Linked DNA regions of Homo sapiens: region 2 is linked to region 1. The links are contacts of gene promoters, found by promoter capture Hi-C in blood cells and fetal thymus (Javierre and others, 2016). All regions are on one chromosome and are shown on one strand. Each heading gives the region's core, a stretch centred on a gene start or on the middle of the fragment in contact. The rest is flanking DNA. Distances are from core to core; before and after follow the strand shown.

Region 1 (4,845 bases), core at 1,931-4,430:
CATGATCTCGGCTCACAGCAACCTCTGCCTCCCCAGTTCAAGCGATTCTCTTGTCTCAGCCTCCCGAGTAGCTGGGATTACAGACATGCGCCACCACGCCCAGGTATTTTTGTATTTTTGGTAGAGACAGGGTTTCTCCATGTTGCCCAAGCTAGTCTCAAACTCCCGAACTCAGGTGATCCGCCTGCCTCAGCCTCCCAAGGTGCTGGGATTTCAGGTGTGAGCAACCGCGCCCAGCCCAATTGAGTTGTTTTTCTAAGCAGTGGTAATTCACATTCTCATCCCTTCTCTTATGACCAAGGGCATACAAAAAAATACCAGGATAAGAGAGATTGCCAGGCCTGGCGCGGTGGCTCACGCCTGTAATCCCAGCACTTTGGGAGGCCAGGGCGGGTGGATCACCTGAGGTCAGGAGTTGGAGACCAGCCTGGCCAACTCGGTGAAACCTCATCTCCACTAAAAATACAAAAACTTAGCCAGGCGTGGTGGCGGGCGCCTGTAATCCCAGCTACTTGGGAGGCTGAGGCAGGAGAATTGCTTGAACTCAGGAGGGGGAGGTTGTTGCAGTGTGCCGAGATCATGCCACTGTCCTCCAGCCTGGGCAACAAGAGTGAAACTCCATTGCAAAAAACAACAACAAAAAACACAGACAAATTGCCTATGTAACCTATATTGGTCCTCAGAGGAATTTTTTTTTTTTTTTTTTGAGACAGAGGGGCGCTGTCTCCCGGGCTGGAGTGCAATGGCGTGATCTAGGCTCACTGCAACCTCCACCTCCTGGGTTCAAGCGATTCTCCTGCCTCAGCCACCCGAGTAGGTGGGATTACAGGCGCCCAACACTACGTCCAGCTAACTTTTTGTATTTTTAGTAGAGACGGGGTTTCACCTTGTTGGCCAGGCTGGTCTTGAACTCCTGACCTCATGATTCGCCTGCCTCGGCCCCCCAAAGTGCTGGGATTACAGGTGTAAGCCACCCTGCCCGGCCCCTTCAGAGGATTTTTAATAAACTGGCCCACATTTACTCTTCAGTTAAAAGCAAGAAATCGGCCAGGAGTGGTGGCTCATGTCTGTAATCCCAGCACTTTGGGAGGCCAAGGCGGGTGGATAACCTGAGGTCGGGAGTTCAAGAACAAACAGCCTAACTAACATGGAGAAACCCCATCTTTACTAAAAATACAAAATTAGCTGGGCGTGCTGGCACATGTCTGTAATCCCAGCTACTCAGGAGGCTGAGGCAGGAGAATCGCTTGAACCCGGGAGGCAGAGGTTGCAGTGGGCCGAGTTCCCGCCACCGCACTCTAGCCTGGGCAACCAGAGTGAAACTCCGTCTCAAAAAAAAAAAAAAAAAAAAAAAAAAAAAGCAAGAAATCTACCTTCCAAGGACATTAAAAAAAAATCAGCTAATTATTTAAAATAACCTTTAAATCCCTTTAGGGACTTAAAATCCTTTTAAATATTTAAAACCCAAACTTTAGAAAGGTTTGATTCCCTCTGGGCAGCCTCCTTTGCATTCCTCCTGGCTACAGTACCTCTATTCTCTCGCAGAATATTTTCAGTTTTTATTGGTTTCCACAATTTGATAGGAAGCAATGACCAGCAACTCTATGCACTCTCCTCCACTAAGCACATGCAGGAAAAATGACGGTTTATGTAAATTCATCTTACTTAGCTCCACACCCCATGTTGGAAGTTACTTTCGAATATTCCACACCTAAAGTTCAAGTAAACTTCCTTCGAGATTAAGCTCCTGGGCCGGACTCTGTGGCTTATGCATGTAACTCCAACACTTTAGAAGGCTGAGGTGGGAGGATTCCCTGAGCCCAGGAGTTTGAGATTAAAGTTAGCTATGAAGGCGCCACTGTACTCCAGCTTGGGTAACACAGCAATACCTTATCTCTAATAATAATAATAAAAATTTTAAAATCTAAAAAACTAAAAGACTTCTCCTGAGCTGATAAATGGAGAGTTGAAAACAACAAAAAAAAAACCTCATAATTGAGCTGGAGCCACTACATGCACACATGAAAAGGACTAACAGTCATAAAACAACACACAAAATCTGGAAGCTAATTTAGTGTAAAGGAAGAGCTTGTTGTTTCTTATTATAATACATCTCCCACTAAAGGTGTCCAATAAATTCTATCACCTTAGGAGATGAGTTTTAAACTAAGTGTAATGAGAAAATAGGTAATTTTTTAAAATCTCTTTTTTCTTTTTGGCTGCGGGGTGGCCAGAGAACGAAGAAATACCAAAAGTGAAATGCTACGCTGAATTGACCAGGCTAACTGGGAACTCACTGGAAAAGTGAAAACTGGGAAGAATTAGTGATGAGCTCAAGAAGGTGCTTAGCCACTTACCCAGAGATTTATTTAATGAGAATGGATCACAGGTTTCCACAGGTCGTTCCACTGCCAGTAAGAAGACAGTCGTGAACCATGGGTCCCTTTTTTCACTAGTCAACAGTCACCCTCACCTACACGCGGAGTACATATTTGGCACTCAGCAAATCTTGATTGAATGAAAACCTACCTCACTCATATTGGCACCCAACCCCGGAGTTATGGCCCCCCAAATTACCTCCAAAACGCCTGACGACCTAACCCAAGGAGCTGAAAAAGTGGAGAGGAAAGCTCTGGGGTGGAGGGGATTCTCTGCCAAACAAGCAGGGGCCAACGGGGCCTAGACCAACTCAACTTCCCACAGAAAACTCAGGGGCCCAGGGGATTGAACCGTGGCTAATCCCTTCTACTTCCACGAAGCAGCAGCCAAGGGGCCGCAGATCCACAGCCTCCCACCCGGGGGCGCTGAGAGATCTTGGGGTATCCCCCGCAAAAGTTAGTACCTGCGAAGCTGCGGCACAAAGAGTGGTTCCGGGCTCTCATTACGGAGGCCGGGACCTGGGACCGACCAGCCGCGCCTCCTGGCTGAGGGTTCCGCGCTCCGGAGCTGCAGTGACCGTACACGTCGCCGATAGACACCTAAGGCTTCAGAAGGGTCCTGGCTCGCAGGCCCCAGACGTTTTGCTCCTAAGACTCCGCGAGTTGTCGCACCCACGTCGACTGGCGCTCTTCAGTGCTTCCCTCACTGGTTAAGCGGTCACTCCCGCCTTAAGCCCAGCAGCCGGTCGCTTCCCGGCGCCGCCATCGTTAGTGTTTGTTTTCATCCGCTTCGGTAATGGCCGGGGGGGGGGGGTGAAAGAGGGCTACGGGGGAAATCCAGATGCCTAACCTTAGTCGCACTTTCGCTACAGTACGGACGCCCTATTTATTCTTTTAGTCCTCAAAATATCCATAAAAGTTGATTTTCATTCCACGTAAGCTTTCTTCTCCAATCTTTCTAAGCTACTCAAGATAAAACAAAGACGGAAAGGCGGTGTTTGAGAGAGAGAGAGAGAGACCGTTTGGGCCGCGTGTGGAATGTGCGGAGATGAACCGCAGGTAGCCGCGGCAGCGGCAGTGAGGGCGCGGCGCGGGGCGGGCGCTGACGCGGAAGGGGCGGTGCCGCTGTTGCGCGCCGTGGCGGCCTCTGTGCAGTCGCCGGTTCCGGAGGAGGGCCCAACCCGGCTGGGTGGGTGGGAAGTGTGGCTGGTAACCTGGCAGCCGCGGAGAGGTGGGTGACGGGCCTGGGCTAACTGAGTGGCCGGCGCAATCAGACTTTGACATCCGTTTTTAGGGTGCCCTTTAAAAGTGGCAGAGTCGCTTCCCAAACCTGGTTCGGCCAGCCTCTTTTTCGCTCCCGACTTCCAATGTGTCTGGTCTTCCGTACTTCCTGGCCCTCAGGTTCACGATTTGGAGTTCTTGGAGTGAGGGAAAAGCCTTTTGTTACAGCACACAGTGTACGTCCATAAGGCTGGGTTGTGGACTTTGGTTGTTTTTTTTTTTTTTTTTTTTTTTTTTTTTTTGCCCCTTCTTTTCTTGTTAGACTGGTTTGAACACCCCAGCATCTGTCCTGTATTTGTCAGGTGAAACCAGAAGTCTTTGGATAATGAAACCCGTGACCAATTCTTACCCAAGGTGGTTATGACATATGTCAGCTGCTTCTTGGCCTATATAGTTAGAAGCCGACCTCTTTTACCTTGTGAATAATTATGTCATCACCTCCATTATTCTTTTGGTGTTCTCAATTGAAATGCCAAGCATTAAATGAGCCACAAAGATTGAATTCCCATTATCCTTGAATCAGAGCAAGCCTGTCGTGCAGCCATGAGTTAGTGGAGAAAAATCCGGAGTTGTAAGTACAGTACGTTTTGCCTCAACAAAATGGAAATTTGTAGAAAAGGAGCTGCTCCAGCCTTTGAGTCACTTTAAAGTCTTTGGTAGGTTCCTAATGTTTTTTCTTTTAACATTTACAGAGAGAAGATTATAAATGGCAGAGCCATTTAACTGTGGTTAGCTGTTGGATTCTGATACTTTCTTAAAAATACGTTCTTGCACCAACATCTTCATTGGGAACAGTTCAGAAAAAGCAAAGAGGAGAGCCAACATTCACATTTACCATGGCTATACCAATAACAGTGCTTGACTGTGACCTCTTGCTATATGGCCGTGGTCACCGGACATTGGACCGTTTTAAGCTGGATGATGTGACTGATGAATACTTGATGTCCATGTATGGGTTTCCACGGCAGTTCATTTATTACTTGGTGGAGCTCTTGGGGGCGAATCTTTCTAGGCCTACTCAGCGATCCAGGGCTATTAGCCCAGAGACACAGGTCCTTGCAGCATTGGGTTTTTATACCTCAGGTTCCTTCCAGACTCGGATGGGAGATGCCATTGGAATCAGTCAGGCGTCTATGAGTCGTTGTGTTGCCAATGTCACTGAAGCACTTGTGGAAAGGGCCTCACA
Region 2 (4,817 bases), core at 2,136-4,635, 380 kb after region 1:
ACAGAAGGATCCCGTCCTTAGTGGGTTGACATGAGGATGGCATGGGGTCCGACAGCCGCGGTTGGAATTCTGGCACTGACATCAGCTAGCTGTGTGCCCTGGGGCAAGTTACTTAACCTCTCTGTGCCCGGGTTTCCTGCAAAATAGGGATGATAATGGTACTTACCTCCGAGGGTTGTTGCCTGCAAAGCGCTTAACACAGCACCTGGCACAGAGTAAGCGCTCAATAAATGGTGGCTACTATGGCTGTGGTCGTTATTATTGTTCCTAAAGGCGCTGAGCACACGAGTGGAGCTCTAGCTGGCAGCTATTATTAGTCTGTTTCTTAGGTCCAGCTATTTCTTTCCGGGCATTGTTCAAATCTTTTACCAAGAGCTCGCGTCCTTATCAGTAACCGAAGGACAGCCGGCCTTCCAGAGTTTGGAATGAACGAGGTTCCCCCGGAGGAGGGCCAAGGACGCGGCCGCGGGCTGCCGGGACCGGGACCTCCCGGAGGAAGCCCGCGCCGCGCCGCCTCCGCCCGGGCCTCCAAGAGCGCGTCAGAGCCGCAGTGACGTCGCCGGGCCTGCACGTGCGGGGAGCCTGGAGGGGGCCGGGAGGGCAGGAGGTCGGGCCGCTGGCAAGAGGCGCCTCGGGCCGCGCTGGGACCCTGCCCTCCGAGGCGGCCAGAAAAGCTGCGGGAAGGCCCGGCCTGGGTCCGCTGTTCCGCGCCTGCTCGCGCGGGGTGCGCTCGGGGCGCCGCCTGCCTGCAGCCCCGCGGGGAGGCCGGAGATGCCGACGCCCGCTCCGGGCCCCGGGGCCCGCTCAACCTGGCCGGGGGAGCTGAATTCCCGGCAGCCATGCGGCGTCGGCGCGGTCCTTTGCGCCCAGTCCCACCCGCCCGGATCCCACTCGTCGCCGTCCCCCAGCGACTCCCTCCGTTTCTTCCCCCTCTGTCCTCCGTCCGGACCAGCTCGTTTGCTGTCAGCGGTGGAGAGCCACTCTCAAGAGGCACCTCCCACCTCCGGCTCCCCGCCTGCAGCCCGGGCGCGCCCATCCTATCGCCCTCCCGACAGCTCCACGCGGTTGGCCCCGCGCGCACCGCCACTCGCCGCGTGTTGACCCGATTATTGTCTATCGCAGAGATGGCGCGACCGCCCAGCCCCTCGTCCCGATGCCTCGCCTTCCCTCCTGAACACTTCTCCAGGCACTCTGCACTCCATCCTCATTCCCACTTCATCCAGACCTCCCCGGCGCCCCGCCCCCCTTGGCTGTTGACACATTCCCCTCAAAGGTCTCCCCTGCATGCCTGTCTTCTTCAAATCCATCCTCCTCGCTCTGCCAGAACAGCCACCTGCAACCCCTGTTTTGCCATGCCTCTCGGCTTGGGGCCGCCCGGTCTTCATGGATGCCCTAGTCTGCCATTTTCTACACCACGCCTCCCGAGCTAGGCTCGGAGGCTGGAGCCCGCTGGGGCCACACTCTTGAAGGTCCTCAGGTCTTTGCTGCAGTTAGGCCCTATCCAGAGAATTTTCCCCTTCCTCCCTTCTCCCCCTCCCCCTACCGGCTTCCTCTTACTCATCCTCCAGAACTCAAGATGTGAGTCACCTTTTCAAGAACGCCCTCCCTGTTCCGCTATCTGGCCGAGTGAAGTGTCCCTGGGCCGCCTGCTGATTTTGTCATATTTAGGGGAGAGGCTTGAGCCTTCAGGATGGCCTGTGGGGTCCTGCATGGTCTGTGCACACCCCCTTCGCCTCCCCTCCCCTCAACATCAGCTCCTTTCTTCCCCTGCTCTGGCCACACAGGGGGTCTCAGTCCCTGGCCCCTACCTCACCTTCCCAGTCCAGCCTCTTAGCGCAGGCTTCTCTGCCTGAAACACCTTGCCGCCCTTCCTCTTCTACTCAATTTTCAGCTGTCATCTTAAGTAAGACTCAATTCGTCTGAGAAGCCTTCCCTGACCCACCCACCCCCAACTCAGTGGAATTCGCCTTTAATAGGTCAAAGTGCAATTCAAAAAAATTTAAAGCATACCAAAAAACTATAGCGAATAATATAATTAATCACTATTCTGTGTGCCTTCCCCTCCCCTAGCCACGTCTTTGTCAAAGCTTAACATTTGCTCTATTTTCTTCAGATCTTTTTTAAAGGACATAAAACCTCACAGATCTAGTCTTCTGAACTCATTTCTGTCCCTCCCCTATGGTAATCACTTTCTGCCTTTGAGTTTTACCATTCCTATGCATACTTTTGTATTTTTGCTACATATATTTGTGCCTGTAAGCACTTTACAGAATTGTTTGGTATGTTTTTAAACTCTGAAGAAATACCATTATACTGGGTATATAATTGTGCAACTTGCTTTTTTCACCCAGCAGGATAATCTTGAAATGTGTTCACATGGATACACGTAGTTCTAGATTATGCAATTTTCACTTCCTATTTGGGTCCCATTATATGAGTTCACCATACTTTATTTACCAATGTCCTTCTGAAGGACATTCAACTTATTTTTAATTTTTTTTCTGTTAGAAACAATATTGTGATTAGTATTTTTTATACCCATCCCCTTGTGTGAAAGTAAGTCTTCCAGTAGCCACTTGGGTGCAGAATTGCTGGATTCAAGGCAGAGGAACTGGCAGCTTTACTCAGCATGACTAAAAGTTTTTTCAAAGTGGTTGTACCATTCACAGTCTGATAGCAATATATGGAAGTTCCCATGCTTGGCATCCTCAACAACATTTGGTATTGTCAGACTTCAAAATTTTTGCCAAGCTGATGGGTGTGAAATGGCCTTTCAGTGTTTTAATTTGCAATTCCCTGTTAACAGGTGAGACTGAGCACACTTTCATTTGTTTGTTGGCCATTTCCTCATTTTTAAGTTGCTCATTGGTTTATTTGACAGTGCTTCTGTTAGATTATCTCTTACTATGAGTAGGAGTTCTTTATATATTCTGAGTACTAATCCTCTGTCAGGCTGTGGCCCATCTGGTGTCTTTTATTGCACTCAATTGCAATTTTAAACATGTATAATTATTTGATGAATGTTTGACTTTCTTATTAGATGGTAAGCACCAAGAGAAGAGGAACTATCCACTGCAACTAGTGCAGTGTCTAACACATACCAGAAACTCAATAAATACTTCTGGACTGAATTGTATTGACATTATTATTATTATTATTATTATTATTATTATTATTATTATTATATGTTTGCCTCTTCAGCTGTCACCCTCAATGTCCCACAAGGCTATCAACTCCTTGAGAGTGATATTTTATTCATCTTTGTATCTCCAACACCTATTATAACACAACACATCTGGCACATTTTATATACCCAATACTTTTTAATTAATTTCCTTTGAACTTTCTCTTCTTTCCCTCACCTTTCTCCTCATCCCATCTTCTATCTCTGAACCCAGTTATATTACCTATACAATGAATGATAAAGACCTCCTAGGGTGTTGGTGAGAATCACCCGATACAGTGGATGCGTTAAGTAGAGCAGTGCTTGGCACATAGTTGGTGCTCAATAAGCAGTGACTTTCAGTATTCCTACAACAATCATTTTGGTGACTAAGGATACACTCTGCTTAATTTTAACAGACAAAATTCTTTCAGAGAGAGAATAAAAGTGAACCTTCTAAAGATCTGGTGACCATTTTTTTCCCCGTTACTGGCATTTGACCCACAATATAAGGCTCAGTCCCAACGTGATCTCTGAAAAGCATCAAATATCATTCTTCTCCTTTTCTTTTATAAATTCCAGAAATATCAAAGGCATATGAACCATACATAGAATTCAAACCTTTAAGTAGAAACACATAAAGGCCAATTCCAAGTCTTTGGCCAGAAGTTGGAGAGCAGAAAGGAGGTCTGTCGGGGATACTAGAGGTGGGATTTAGTGGCTGCAGCCGAAGACAAAAGCAGAATTCTTACCTCTGTTTCCGACATCTGTCATTGATTGTGTGACTTTTGACCTATTTATAAAATGAAAATAATAATTCTTGCTTTTTCTAGACATTGAAATTCACTAATGAGTCATTTGAAAATGCTTTGTGACCCTCAACGTGAAAGGCAGTTTGAGTATATTTAAACATAGCTCCTCCAAGGTAGATGGGCCAGCAACATCTGTCCCTACCACGCAGGAACATGATCTCTATTCTGCCAGACAGGGAGGCCCAGGAAGGTGGATTTTGTCCGCCCAGACTTGTAAGTTACCGACAAGCAGGGGAAAAACCCAAGAGGGAAGTCCTCGTTCTGTGCACGCACCCCCTTCACCTGCGGCCTGACATTTGCAGGAATGATAAATCTCAGGGCAGTCTTATTTGATCAAGATGTAATACTAGGCAGAGGCCTGTCATCTCTAGGGTTTCAGCTCCGCGGGAGGAAAGCAGGTGGCTGCACTGGGTCTGTTGCAACGTGAGCCCACCAGAGAGAACAATTAACGCAGTGACCGCTGGCAGCCGCCTCTCCCCAGAAGGGCCGAAAGGAGCTTTGCTGAGAGATGTAACAGGAGAAGGTGGGCTGAACCCAGAAAGCCCCTCTGGAGGCTGACCTTCTCCTCAACTCAGAGACCTACAAAAGGGCCAGGAAAAGCAGTAGAGATGGCTGTTTGACAACTCCATGTCGTAGCGTCCTAGGGTTAAGCTGACCCCTACTGCTGTGGGAACCAGCAACAACACTGGAGCTGGAAGACCAAGCTTTGAAATCCAACTGTGAAACTTACTAGCTGTGCAATTTGGTCACTAACCCTCTGTGACTCAGTGCCTCAACCGTGGGTATCATAAGAACACTGACCCATCAAGTTTGCTAAGGAAGATTAAATGAGAAAAGGTAGG

The links. Contacts are between HindIII fragments. The CHiCAGO score rates a contact against its expected background, and 5 or more counts as called.
Region 2: a contact is called between a fragment that was not itself captured here and the fragment with the promoter of ATG13 in region 1, in 1 of 17 cell types (naive CD4 T cells). The highest score is 5.6, in naive CD4 T cells.

The regions. Positions count from the first base shown.
Region 1 is chr11:46,615,888-46,620,732 of GRCh38, reverse strand. It overlaps ATG13 (autophagy related 13), which reads right to left and starts at 3,180. Exons shown (of 19, transcript NM_001346311.2): 1 at 2,843-3,180. It overlaps HARBI1 (harbinger transposase derived 1), which reads left to right and starts at 3,506. Exons shown (of 3, transcript NM_173811.4): 1 at 3,506-3,609; 2 at 4,352-4,845. The coding sequence starts at 4,496. RefSeq lists a silencer at 2,920-3,214 and an enhancer at 3,194-3,373. The HindIII fragment of the contact is 4,045 bases long and covers 1-3,320 here.
Region 2 is chr11:46,234,058-46,238,874 of GRCh38, reverse strand. LOC124902669 (translation initiation factor IF-2-like) reads right to left here and starts at 1,486. Exons shown (of 1, transcript XM_047427965.1): 1 at 1-1,486. The coding sequence starts at 1,036. The coding sequence ends at 326. RefSeq lists silencers at 507-826, 937-986 and an enhancer at 1,572-1,621. The HindIII fragment of the contact is 2,592 bases long and covers 2,090-4,681 here.